Linked DNA regions of Homo sapiens: all the other regions are linked to region 1. The links are contacts of gene promoters, found by promoter capture Hi-C in blood cells and fetal thymus (Javierre and others, 2016). All regions are on one chromosome and are shown on one strand. Each heading gives the region's core, a stretch centred on a gene start or on the middle of the fragment in contact. The rest is flanking DNA. Distances are from core to core; before and after follow the strand shown. Region 1 holds the start of HEMK2 (HemK methyltransferase 2, ETF1 glutamine and histone H4 lysine). Region 2 overlaps MRPL39 (mitochondrial ribosomal protein L39). Region 3 holds the start of MIR155HG (MIR155 host gene).

Region 1 (4,314 bases), core at 1,701-4,200:
ATTGATGAAAAAGACTGTTATATTGATACAATGTCCAAGAGTAGAAGAATACACATACATGCACAGACATCTGAAGGAATTTATGAATTATACATCCAATGAAGGAGTACTATGCAGCCACCAAAAATGAAATTTAAAAGGAATTTTTGATAGGAAAATGTTTATGAGACGAAATTAAATTAAAAACACAGGAAATGAAAAAAAACAGAAGGAAACACAGTTGGACCATGTATGGTAAAATTTATAGGTGATTTTAATTTTCTTCTTTATACTTTTCTACATTCCCAATCTTCTATAAATTTAAGCAACTTTAAATGTCTTATGATATCAAATTACTTAGCTAAGAAATCAAATTTAGAGATGATCTAAAATTATGCTGCTTCTACAATTACGTAGTATGATGGAGCAGTTTGAACATGAATAATTTTTAGGGAAGCATAGTTTGTAATCTGAGTTTTTGCTATGCTTAAATACTATAAGATACATACTGTCTCTTTAAAAATTATTTCATTAGAGTTATCATAGTTAACCTGTCAGTGGAAGATCTAGATGAATATGATATACTTACATGTACAAAGCCTGAGGGCCTATCATAGAGGCTAGGAATGCAGATACTACACCAGACCCTGACCCTACTTCCAGGCATATTTCCACTCTGAAAAAAAAATAAATAAATATTAGTATAGTAGAATCAAAATACTCTTCACAGAAAACTCTCATGCTAGTGTTATTTCTAGCATATATATTTCTCTAGCATCATCACTCACCTGCAAATATATGAAAATAGAAATTTATAATTTCTGACAACTACTTTGTACTTAATATTGCATAACTCAAAATTACTAATATTTTGGGTACGTAATATAAGTCCATAAAAGTTATCTATTACCAAACATGGCTTTCAGTTAATTTCAACAAACCATTACATTAAAAAGTATGGAAAAATGTTAATCTAGGGTTGGAAATATTAATGTGAAAGACATCATTCCTTCGCACAAGGAGCTCCTAGCTTAGTATTTCCTAAAATAAAGTTTGTATTATTACAAAATTTATTTTTGAAAAAAGTTCCTCTATCATTTTTAATACCTAACATTCATAGAGCCATCAGTATATCCTAGAGAATTAAAAGGTCCCCCAATAATAGAGCAGGACAAAAATTCTTTTTCTGGACAGCTATATGCTAATTGGGAAAATAGTATCTGATCTTTGAATGTTAACCATCTTAGAATGCTGTTAACTATAAAATCTTCATTCTACTGTACTTTATCTTTCCATTAAATTTATTTTCTTGCCTATAATCTTGGAAGTTGCTTCTTTTTTAGAGACAGGCTCTTGCTCTGTCACCTAGGCTAGAGTGCAGTGGTGCCATCACAGCTCACTGCTGCCTTTAACTCCTGGGCTTGCTCAAGTGATCCTCCCACCTCAGCCTCCCAAGTAGTTAGGACTATAGGCACGAACCACAGTGCCAGCCCTCTATAATGTTATACATGCATCAAAAGCATAAATCATCCCCATTAAAAAGATCAGCTTGATGGCATTTAGGGAAATTTTTAGCACTGAACTCCCAAAACAACTACCCAGTGACAAGCTCCAGAGGTTTTAAACTTTTGGAACCAGTCTACACATCTGACAAGTCTTTATTAGGTGGTAGTAAGGTCTGAGAATCTCACCAGGTGGCTTCTCTTTGAAAATAACTATCATGGTCTCATAAATAATTAGAATTCCAAACTAGAAATAACCCAAGACTTTATAACAAAATCAGCTCCTTTTACAGCATACTTTGCAGTGCAATTTGTGCTTGTAAATCTTTCTGGGCTATCTTGAGAAGAAAAGACAAGTTATAAAACAGTACTGTTCCACTGTATATTCCAGTAGATCCAAAAGTTCCATCATCTACAATGAAAGACTAGTTTAATAAGAGCTGGGACATTTTATACTGGAGAAATATGACCAAGTTTAAGAGGGATAAATAAATACAATATAGATCTTTGAAACCTGAAAGCTGTTTGTTCCATCCTGAGAAAACCCAGTTCATCTTATCTTCAAACAAATCTAACAACCCAAATTCCTTACATTTAAAAATCACAATGTCAGTATTCATTCCTTCTGCTATTAATTTAAAATTGATGGCGATCACTTCAATAAATCCATTTAAATAAAGTGCTAGGGTAGACTATTGTCTGCTAGCTGCATGTAACTTTTTTTTGGTAACAATTAAATGAAAAATTCAGTTCCTCAATAGCACTAGCCACATTTCAAGCGCTCTGTAGCCACATGTGAGGACTGGCTGGTGCTAGAGTATGCTATTCAGTGGGTTTAAAAATATTTCCCCACTCCAGTAACACAACTTTCTTTCATGTTTGTTAAGGGTGCTTTCTATGTGCTGAGTAAATCAAATAATACCATGCAATTTTAATATGTAATACTTTAAAAATATTAATAAGCAATGTTTCCGGAATATTTTGTTTCCAAACGTGTTATACTATCGCTTCTCTCAGGGACATGTGTTCTTCAGATTAACAGGCGACAGGAAAAGATACGCCTTTGCATGGTAAGCAGTCAGGGAGCTCATGAGACAGAGCAGCCCCCTGGCAAAGGAGATGCGTCCCCGGCACACTCATTACTTGTAGCTACAGGAAAATTCTCAATTACGGCGTCCTGGCTGTCAATCATCTGCAAGTGGACCCCGCCTGCTCCGGCTCAGGGCGGTGATAGTCACCGTTCCGGCCCTCCTCCACCGCACTTCTTCAGAAAGCCGCAACCCTTTCCCGTCAGAGCCCCTCCCCTCCTCGCACCCTGCCAGTTCGGCAGCCGCTGCCTCCAGCGCGTCCAAAAGCAGAAACGTGTCCTCCGCGGGCTCGTACACGTCGCTGAAGGCGCCGCGGCCCACGTGCCCGTGGAACGGCGTAGCGAAGTTCTCCCCTGCCATAGTCCTTCGCTGCGTTCCATGCGCGTGCGCAGGGCGTGCGCATGCGCATGCGCATGCCCTCACCCTCATGCGCAGGCCTAGGAGTGGGGCTGGCGTCCCGGGCGACCAGTGTGTTGTTGTTGGGTCTTAATTCTAAATTTGTCAGTGGCTCTCCTTGAAATTGCTAAGTAGACAGTTGTATAATCCGTGACTATTGACATTTGCTTTCTTCTTTGGAACATTTAAATTTTATTCTGTGAACTAGAACCTGATAGTGGGCATTCTGAGTTGTTTTTGACTAAGGTGAATGTTCTTTCTTCATTCTAATGATATTTGGAAATTCTGTTTTATTCCTAGTTTGCAAGGATTTGAAAAAATACATAATAAATTTTACTGTTTTTTTGTCAGCTGAACTTTAAGCTTTACGCTATAAAGATGAAGACTTTCCTCGTTTTTTTACTGTACTTTATAAATTGCCTTCCTGATGAATCATGAATGCACTCTTTTTATAAACCTTAAGCAAGATGATGCGGTTTAATACACTGCTGAATTGGGGAGGCTAATAATCTGGCTCCGTTTTTTTTTACCAAGATTACGCTACCCTCGTTATGTGAGTTAGGACACTGTTTCTGGAACATTAGGTAGAAAGCCTTAAAACTGGCTGGGCTTGGTGCCTTTTTGAGTGAATGGATCTTTGATGTTTTGGAACATCTGTAAGTTATTAGACTATTCAAGTATTTGCATTCTTTTTGAGTCAATTTCTGAAATTTGTTTCGCAATGAAACATTTTTACAGCTCGTTTTTTAAATTTGAGAAATAAAAATACAGAAAAGTATTTGAGGTACAAATTTTATTTTATTTTATTTCTACTTATGTATTTTTTTTTTTTGGAGACAGAGTCTCGCTGTATCCCCCAGGCTGGAGTGCAGTGGCGCGAGCTAGGCTCACTGCAACCTCTGCCTCCCAGGTTCAAGCGGTTCTCCTGCCTCAGCCTCCGGAGTAGCTGGGATTACAGGCGCCTGCAGCCACGGCTGCCTAATTTTTGTATTTTTAGTAGAGACGGATTTTCCCCATGTTGGCCAGGCTGGTCTCAAACTGCTGACTTCAGGTGATCCACCCGCCTTGGGCTCTCAAAGTGCTGAGATTACAGGTGTGAGCCTTTAACGCACCCGGCTGGGTTACAAATTTCAAAACCCCAAGTTTTAAACCCAGAAATGACAGTATTTTCTCATGTTTCCTTAAAATATTTTTTAAATACAAGAACTAAAATATTACAAATAAGATGGATGTTCTTTCTCTATTTGCCTTCAGTTTAATTGTGTAACATTCTCTCCAAGGCTCTTATGGATTTAGTGTATGTCCATCTAATCCATGTAAAAACATGGATCTTGTATTTATACGTTTAT
Region 2 (4,399 bases), core at 1,900-4,399, 3.3 Mb before region 1:
CATTAAGTCTAAATGCTAATGACAAAGAATAAACTACAAAAACACAAACATTCAAATCTGGTTTTTCAGGACATTAGGATATTTGCACATTTACTGTTAATGGCTAAAGGCGGCTTTAAAATACACCTGACAAATCTTAATCCTCTAAATATTCATTAAGTTTACAAAATAAATCCTAAGACCTAACTGATACCATTACAACTATTAAGAACTATTACTATTACATAGTAATATTCTTATTTCTCTTCAAGTTCTACAATATCATTTTCACGATATTAACAAATAAAATCAAAAGAGAACTGCCAAGTTACAACTTTACCCTTACCAACACACTAGTGAACAATCACAACACTGCTTTGACTATTGAGACAACTTACTTTTTTCCTTTCTCTTTGTTTCTTTCATTTTTCCCCCCTTTGGTTGTTATTGGTTAATTTTGATGAATTTCTTTATAGAAGAGTACTCAATAGCTGTCAAAAACACTTACCATTTTCCGAGATCTTTCCAATAGCTTATCCCATATTGTAAAATGTGCCTTGAAAAGAAAAGATTTGCGATGAACTAAATGAAGCAGTAATGTCAAAGTAAAAAGGACAGAGTCTTTATATAGCTTTTAGAACAAAATAAATAAAAAGCTAGGCAGTACTAATTTAGATAAGTGGTTATAAAAGTGGATCATAGTAGCAAAAAAAGGTGCTACATGGGGATAGCTGCTTTTTTGCTTTCTTCAATCGCATGAACCCGGGAGGCAGAGGTTGCAGTGAGCATTTAAGAAAAAAACGCTTAAGGATTGAACGTGCCCTTCTTTCACTTTTGCCCATCTTAATCATTTCCATCATAGAAAGCATTTCTTCTAATAGGAAGCAAAAATCTGCCCTACTTTCCCATAGACTGTGGTTCAATCCTTAAACAGCCAGTTTCAACATTCTAGAAGTCATTCTTCAAATCATAAGCAATCACAAGAAGACAGTCATTAAAAACCAACTGTGACATCTTCACACTGAAATGGCAGAAGCAGAGGATTCATCAAGTTACCCTAAAGAATAAGTAAAACCTAACAAAGACAATAGTAAATTTTTTTTTTTTTTGAAATGGAGTTTCACTCTGTCGCCCAGGCTGGAGTGCAGTGGTGCGATCTCAGCTCACTGCAACCTCCGCCTCCCAGGTTCAAGCAATTCTCCTGCCTCAGCCTCCCAAGACAATAGTAAAATTTAAACTCAATTTCCTTAGTCCATAACAACCTCCTGTAGCAGAGGATTATCAGAATGCATTAAAGAAAACTGTGCAAAGTGTATCATGACCACATCAATTTTATTAGGTCAACTGAAAGTGGTAACAAGACATATGGGCAGGCCAGTGACTACTCCACACTGAATGAGCTCATAAAATCTATAATAAAAGGTAAAATTAATAAATATCAACATACAAACCCTTCCAGGGAAAGAGCTGACTGGTATGTTTAAAGGGAAAACCATGCCTGACTCAGGCGGAATGAACTGCTGGTGCAGAGACCTTAAGCTGTGGCTGGAATATAGTGAGTGAGGAAAGGAGTGGTGTTAGATAAAGTCAGAGAAGCAGGCAGGGACCAGATAATGCAGGGCTTTGTGAGACAGGGTAAAGAGTTGGGATTTGTTCAAGGGAAGCCATTGGAAAGTTTGGGGCAGAGGAAGTACATAACAGATTGTGTATTAAAAAGATCACTTTGGCTACTAAGTGGAAAATGCACTGTAGATGGCAAGAGTGAAAGCAAGGAAGGTGAGTGAAAACAAAGAGGAACTTGGATAAGGGAAGTAGTAGTAGATGAGATGTTATAAGGTGCATAGATTCAGAATATGTTTCAGAGTTAAAAGTTGAAAGGACTTGCGGATGGATGGGCTGGGGCATGGCTATGAGGGGAAAAGAGAATCAAGGATTACCTTAAACAACTAAGGAAACCAGGGGTATCCAATCTTTTGGCTTCCCTGGGCCACACTGGAAGAAGAATTGTCCTGGACCACACATAAAATATACTAACGCTAATGACAGCTAATGAGCTAAAAAAAAAAAAAAATCGCAAGAAAACCTCATAATGTTTTAAGAAAGTTTACAAATTTGTGTCTCATTCAAAGCCGTCCTGGACTGCATGCAGCCCATGGGCTGTGAGTTGGACAAGCTTGAGTTAAAGGATGATCCCATTTTCTGAAATTGGGAAGGCTAGGAAAGGAAGCAGGTATGTGGAGAAAAGTCAAAGTCAAATGTATAGGAGAGGTGTGCTAAATTTTACAAAATGAGAGGGATGAAAGAAGATATAAATAAATAAGAAGATACAGTAAGTTCATAGACTGGAAACCTCAACATATTAAAGATGTCAATTCTCCCCAAACTGCTATACAGGTCTAATGGACTTATCAGAATCTCAGGAAGACTCTGTTGACATTGAAAATATTATCCTAACATTAAATGGAAACTCAAAGAGACTAGAAGAGTTAAAACAATTTTGATTAAAAAACAGTAACAAGGGAGGAATTACTCTACCTGATTTCACAGCCTATTTAGAGCTACAGTAATCAAGACTGGGTGGTACTGGTAGAGAGCTAAACATATGTGATCAATGGAACAGAATAGAGGACCCAAAAATAGGCCTACATAAATATGCTCAGCTAATTTTTAACAAAGATGCAAAAGTAACTCAGTGGAGGAAGAGTGGCCTTTTCAACGAATGGTGTTGGAGCAATCTGACATCTATAGCCCACAAAAAAAAAAAAAAAAAAAAAAAACCTAAACCTAAATCTCACACTCATAGAAAAATTAACTCAAAATGGACCACAGATTTAAACAAATGTAAAACTCTAAAACTTTTAGGAGGGAAAAAAAAAAGGAGAAAATCTTTGGGATGTAGGACTGGTCAAAGAGTTCTTAGAATTAACCCCAAAAACATAATCTATAAAAACAAAAATGTTATCAAATTTTAATAAACTAGTTTCATCAAAATTAAAAACTTCTCTGCAAAAGGCTGCTCAGAGAATGAGAAAACAAGCCACATATACAAACACAAGGTACAGACAGAAAAAGAGAGAAATCTGAAAACTACATATCTAACAAAAAACTAGTATCTACAACATATAAAGAACTCTCAAAACTCAACTGTTAAAAAGTAAAACAATCTAATTAGAACACTAGCAAAAGACATAAACAGACATTGCACCAATGAAGATATACAGATGGCAAATAAGTACATGAAAAAATGATCAATACCATTGGTCAACAGAGAAATTCAAATTAAAACTACAATGAGAAATCACTACAAACATATCAGAATGACTAAAACAAAAAAAAAAGTAGTGACAGCATCAAATGCTAGTGAGGATGTGGAAAAACTGATCACTCACACATTGCCAGTGGGAATGTAAAATGGTACCGTCACTCTGGAACACTTTGGTTGTTTCTTAAAAAACTAAACATACACTTATCATATGACCCAGCAATTGCACTCCTGGGTATTTATCCCAGAGAAATATTCACAAAAACCTGCACACAATGTCACAGCAGCTTTATTTGTAATAGCCAAAGACTGAAAATAACTCAGATGTCCTTTGATGGATGAATGGTTAAACAAACCATGATACATCCAGACCAAGTAATACTACTTAGCAATAAGAATGAATGAACTACTGATATACTCAATGTACTCGGATGAAATCTCCAGAGAATTATACTGAGTGAAAAGTGCCAATCCCAAAAAATTACATACCGTTTGATCCCATTCATACAATATTCTTGAAGTGACAAAATTATAGAAAAGGAAAACAGATAAGTAGTTGGCAGGGGTAAGCAGGCAGGGTAATGGGGGCAACAGAGGGAAGTGGCTGTAAATGCGTGTGTCTATAAAAGGCCAACATGAGGGATCCCCGTAGTGAAGGAATTGTCCTGTATCTTCATTGTATCGCTGTCCATACCCTGGTGGTGATACTGTATTTTAGTACTGCAAGATGCTACCATTGAGGAAACCAAGTAAAGGTACATGGGATCTCTCTATGTCTTATAACCCAATTATCTCAAAATCAAAAATTTAAATAAAAAGATTAGCAAGGGGTGGGAGCAATGTGGAAAATGTCAGGCTTCGGGTCATGATGGATCATTAAAATTAGAGGGAAGAGCATGCCAAATTTAAGCTTAAAAGGCATTCCAGGAAGTCTTACCAATACGCACTCTAATACCCCCTCTGTCAATGTACCCTCACCTATGCTAACTTGAAATTTTTAAATGCTATGTCAATTTAATTTTTTCAACTAATGTTTCTTTTGTAATTGTATATTTACACCCTGGGCAACTTTGTTTTTAATCATAAACCTGAGTTTATAAAATATTAGTGTCACATAACTTAAGAAAAATTAAAAGTTTATATTCTTCAAACTGGTAT
Region 3 (4,410 bases), core at 588-3,087, 3.3 Mb before region 1:
TTGCACATGACCTGAAATTACTTCCACCACTGGGAGAAGGGAGGATTGAGCAATTTCCTGTTTCTATTAAAGTGCATTATACAAACTTGTCATTCTGGGGATGAAAGGTCACCCTAGAATTGCCTATGGGCAATTTCTTATAGTTCAACCTAGAATGAGAAATGGGAAATTCAGAAAGGCATTGTAGGCATCTGTAACCAGCAGAGGGACGTGCCCCACCTGGGTGGGGACCATGCATCCTTGCCACATGCCCCACTGCACAACTTCCCCAGCTCCTCAACGTCACATGGATCTGGAAAGCAGGGAGACTGGACTACGGAGCCAGCCCTCCAGGGTTGGAACTGAGTTTGAATCTCAGCTTGACTACTTACTAGGATCTAAGGTAACATGTTTAATCTCTCTGTGCTCAGTTTCCTCATCTGGAAATAGAGATTATAATGCTCCTCCCTCATATGATCATAGTGAGGACTGAAAGAGTTAATGCATATAAGGAGTGTTAGGACAGGATCTGGCACATGGTAAATGCTTTATAAGTGTTAGTTGTTATCATCATGATTATTCTTGTTTGAATTATAAGAGAAAAAGCATGTATCTTAAGAATAGAGGGTTTTAAAATGCTCCCAAGTTCCTTAACCAACCTGAGCCATCTGTAAATTAAGTACTATGGGATTTCCAGCTCTGACATGTATTCTGACATGTAACTGGCATCAGTTTAATACAAACTATTCTAAAATGTCTTGTGCCCTTGACAGGGAGGTCCAAGTACTGGATACTTGCAATGCAATCCAGCAGTGGCCCCGTCTTTCTTACAAAAAGGCCCCAGTCACATGTTGATGAGGCTAGATCTATTCCTGTCCTCCTTCTCTTCCCCATATTTCCTTATTCTTCTTCAAGTCTAAACGTTTATTGAACTGAGACCCATGAATGAGTTACTCGACTAGGCTTGTAGGATAAACTTGCCAGGCTTTAGATCTATTTGTTCCTTTCCATCCCCCAAAATCAAATGGCTGCTCCAGGAAAATGTTCCCCTTGTGGCAGGGTCCGGGAGAAAAGAGAGAAGCGACAAAACCAAAAATTAAAACGACCGAAGTCCCATATGCTCCAGGAATATGTCCTGGAGATGGGAGTGGAGGGCAGGGGGAGAATGTTGTTGAGGTCAAAATTTTTGAAGTTTTAAGTCCTATATCTTGACATCCCGAGTATAAATGCGGGTACCAGACACAGTACAAACGTTCTCAAAGCCCAGTTACGTATTCCAAACCAAACGCGGGCTCTTGAAGGGTGATGAGGTAGGGATGAAATCCAGGATCGCCTGAAGACCATTTCTTCCTCTCTTAGGGACCTGCTGGTCTCCAGCTGATTCGGTCCAGGAGGAAAAACCTCCCACTTGCTCCTCTCGGGCTCCCTGCAAGGAGAGAGTAGAGACACTCCTGCCACCCAGTTGCAAGAAGTCGCCACTTCCCCCTCCAGCCGACTGAAAGTTCGGGCGACGTCTGGGCCGTCATTTGAAGGCGTTTCCTTTTCTTTAAGAACAAAGGTTGGAGCCCAAGCCTTGCGGCGCGGTGCAGGAAAGTACACGGCGTGTGTTGAGAGAAAAAAAATACACACACGCAATGACCCACGAGAAAGGGAAAGGGGAAAACACCAACTACCCGGGCGCTGGGCTTTTTCGACTTTTCCTTTAAAAAGAAAAAAGTTTTTCAAGCTGTAGGTTCCAAGAACAGGCAGGAGGGGGGAGAAGGGGGGGGGGGTTGCAGAAAAGGCGCCTGGTCGGTTATGAGTCACAAGTGAGTTATAAAAGGGTCGCACGTTCGCAGGCGCGGGCTTCCTGTGCGCGGCCGAGCCCGGGCCCAGCGCCGCCTGCAGCCTCGGGAAGGGAGCGGATAGCGGAGCCCCGAGCCGCCCGCAGAGCAAGCGCGGGGAACCAAGGAGACGCTCCTGGCACTGCAGGTACGCCGACTTCAGTCTCGCGCTCCCGCCCGCCTTTCCTCTCTTGAACGTGGCAGGGACGCCGGGGGACTTCGGTGCGAGGGTCACCGCCGGGTTAACTGGCGAGGCAAGGCGGGGGCAGCGCGCACGTGGCCGTGGAGCCCGGCCTGGTCCCGCGCGCGCCTGCGGGTGCCCCCTGGGGACTCAGTGGTGTCGCCTCGCCCGGGACCAGAGATTGCGCTGGATGGATTCCCGCGGGCAGAGGCAGGGGGAAGGAGGGGTGTTCGAAACCTAATACTTGAGCTTCTTTGCAAAGTTTCCTTGGATGGTTGGGGACGTACCTGTATAATGGCCCTGGACCAGCTTCCCTGTTGGAGTGGCCAGAGAAGTGTGTAAAACACACTAGAGGGGCAGGGTGGAAAAAGAGACTGCCTTCAAAACTTGTATCTTTTCGATTTCATTTTGAAAAATAACTACAAATCTATTTTAATTTTACAAAGTTAGACTCATAGCATTTTAGATATCAATGTCTTCATTTAACAGAAGTGAAGATGGAGCAAACGCTCAATCAGCGTCTGTATTTATTCGCTCCTGTTGTGCCAGGGTGCGTTTTTGCCGAGCGGTTGCCTTTCTTTACTCACAAAACCCCCTTGATGTCTGTCCTCCACGTTTTACGAGGGAGAGCCGGATCTTTTGAAGTTTGTATCATCTAAAGCAGGTATATTGGGATGACTATGGATAGAATTTAACCTGAAAACACTGAAGTTGACAGCTGACAAAGATATAAGAATCCAAAGTATGTTAAAAATTAAGGAGCTGAGGCCCACAGAAGTGAAGTTACTTTTCCAGCATCACACAGCAGATCTAGGACCCTGTGTGATTTGAAAAGGCCAAGGTATCTAATGATGCTCATAATTTAGTTTACATTTTGTGTCAAATAGATGAGGTCAAGTGGACATTATGTGTATATTCCAAAGCCAAAATTACTGCTTGTAATATCCATTCATCTCTCCGAAGACGTAGTGCCTCTTTTATATGGCTTTAACCTAATGTATAATCGAAGTGAATTAGGGCAGCCAGACTTTTAATCACAGGACTGATCTTTTAAAAACGGGTATATGTAAAGTTAATTGCTTATCTATGTGAACAGTAATATACACTATAAAAAGTTTTCAAGGCAACTTCCTGCCTGTGGTTTAATTTGATAGTCACAATGATAGGAAATTGGCAGGGTTAGGTGGTGGTATCTACATTTTGCCCATGAGGACTTGTGGCTCAGAGAATTTGAGTTTTTTCTAGTAAGGTCACTAGGTCCCTAGTGCACAGCCTGCTTTTAGGTACGGATGTGGGATGGGGGTGTCGGCAGACCACAGGGTTTTGACTCTCAGTTTGGGCTCATTTCCATGACTCCTTGCTGCCTCCCTGATTTCTGTCAAATGACCAAAGCACATTTAGTAATTACTTCTGCTGCAAGGACTACTCCTTATTAGGCTGTGATAAGTAAGTTTCCTCACATAGTGGGTCAGCTCACTCTGGCCACAGGACCCAGCTTCCTAACCACACACATTAAGAAAGAGAAAAATTAGCACTGTCTGAGACCTACAACCACTTCAAGGGAGAACAGTGGTGTTTGCACAAATGTCTACTTTTGTTTTAACCTAGTCATGTGTAAAAAGTGTAATTCACTGGTCTTTACCAAAAAAAAAAAAAAAAAAACAACAACAAAAAAAAAACAGGCATCATAGTCTGCCTGTGCTGGACGCTATGCTAGACACTGGAGAGACAAAGGTGAGCAGGATAGGCACAACCCTACCCTTACAAACCCAGAAAGTTAGAGGAAAGGCCATCAGGACATTGCTGTGCAATTTGATATCATTTCAATTTTGGTAACATAGATATTTGAACTAATTAGAATGTGCTACAAATTTTGCCATTCTTTACTTTCCATATGCCAACATGGAAAATTTGTAACCCTCATCTTTAAATACCTCATCTTACCAGTCCTCTATAAATCAAAAAATCTACCCCAAAAAGCCCTAGGTTTTAACTTTTGAAAAGTTTTTTTTTATCAGCTTTTCAGGTCATGACTAAGATCTGCCATTCAATTTAAAGGAATTCTTTCATTTTAGAGTAATAGTTACTAAAATCCTTTATTCCTACCTCCTTGAGAATCTAATGGAAATTTTATATGCTCTTCCCAGAAAATTTTTGTTAATGTGTATCCTCACACACCAATTTGCATTCGATGTTAGCAGGCTAGAGACTTCCTTGAATCTCAGCCATGACCCTCTTCGGGGGTCCACTTTCATAATCAGTATTCTAAACCTAGTAGGCATAAATAGCTTGAATAGAGGAAAGTGGTATGTAGACTCTTGCCCTTCACTTGGACTGGGCACCTCTATCACTTGGACTGGGCACCAGCTAGTGCCCTTAACTAGCTGGTGTCTCCATTTTTGATAGTCATTGGCTATTGCTTAGCTG

The links. Contacts are between HindIII fragments. The CHiCAGO score rates a contact against its expected background, and 5 or more counts as called.
Region 2: a fragment that was not itself captured here is called in contact with the fragment with the promoter of HEMK2 in region 1 in 1 of 17 cell types (total B cells); the score reaches 5.3 in total B cells.
Region 3: a contact is called between the fragment with the promoter of MIR155HG here and the fragment with the promoter of HEMK2 in region 1, in 2 of 17 cell types (naive CD8 T cells and non-activated CD4 T cells). The highest score is 5.8, in naive CD8 T cells.

What each region holds. Positions count from the first base shown.
Region 1 is chr21:28,882,417-28,886,730 of GRCh38, forward strand. It overlaps HEMK2 (HemK methyltransferase 2, ETF1 glutamine and histone H4 lysine), which reads right to left and starts at 2,951. Exons shown (of 6, transcript NM_013240.6): 1 at 2,796-2,951; 2 at 569-655. The coding sequence starts at 2,929. RefSeq lists enhancers at 2,250-2,809, 2,805-2,864, 2,810-3,368. The HindIII fragment of the contact is 10,284 bases long and covers 1-3,326 here.
Region 2 is chr21:25,588,348-25,592,746 of GRCh38, forward strand. MRPL39 (mitochondrial ribosomal protein L39) reads right to left here. Exons shown (of 10, transcript NM_017446.4): 9 at 488-535. Among named protein-coding and RNA genes, the nearest start is that of LINC00515, 7.3 kb to the left of the region's middle. The HindIII fragment of the contact is 1,999 bases long and covers 2,151-4,149 here.
Region 3 is chr21:25,560,308-25,564,717 of GRCh38, forward strand. MIR155HG (MIR155 host gene) reads left to right here and starts at 1,838. Exons shown (of 3, transcript NR_001458.3): 1 at 1,838-1,950. RefSeq lists an enhancer at 1,373-1,422 and silencers at 1,803-1,892, 1,903-2,182. The HindIII fragment of the contact is 13,141 bases long and covers 1-4,410 here.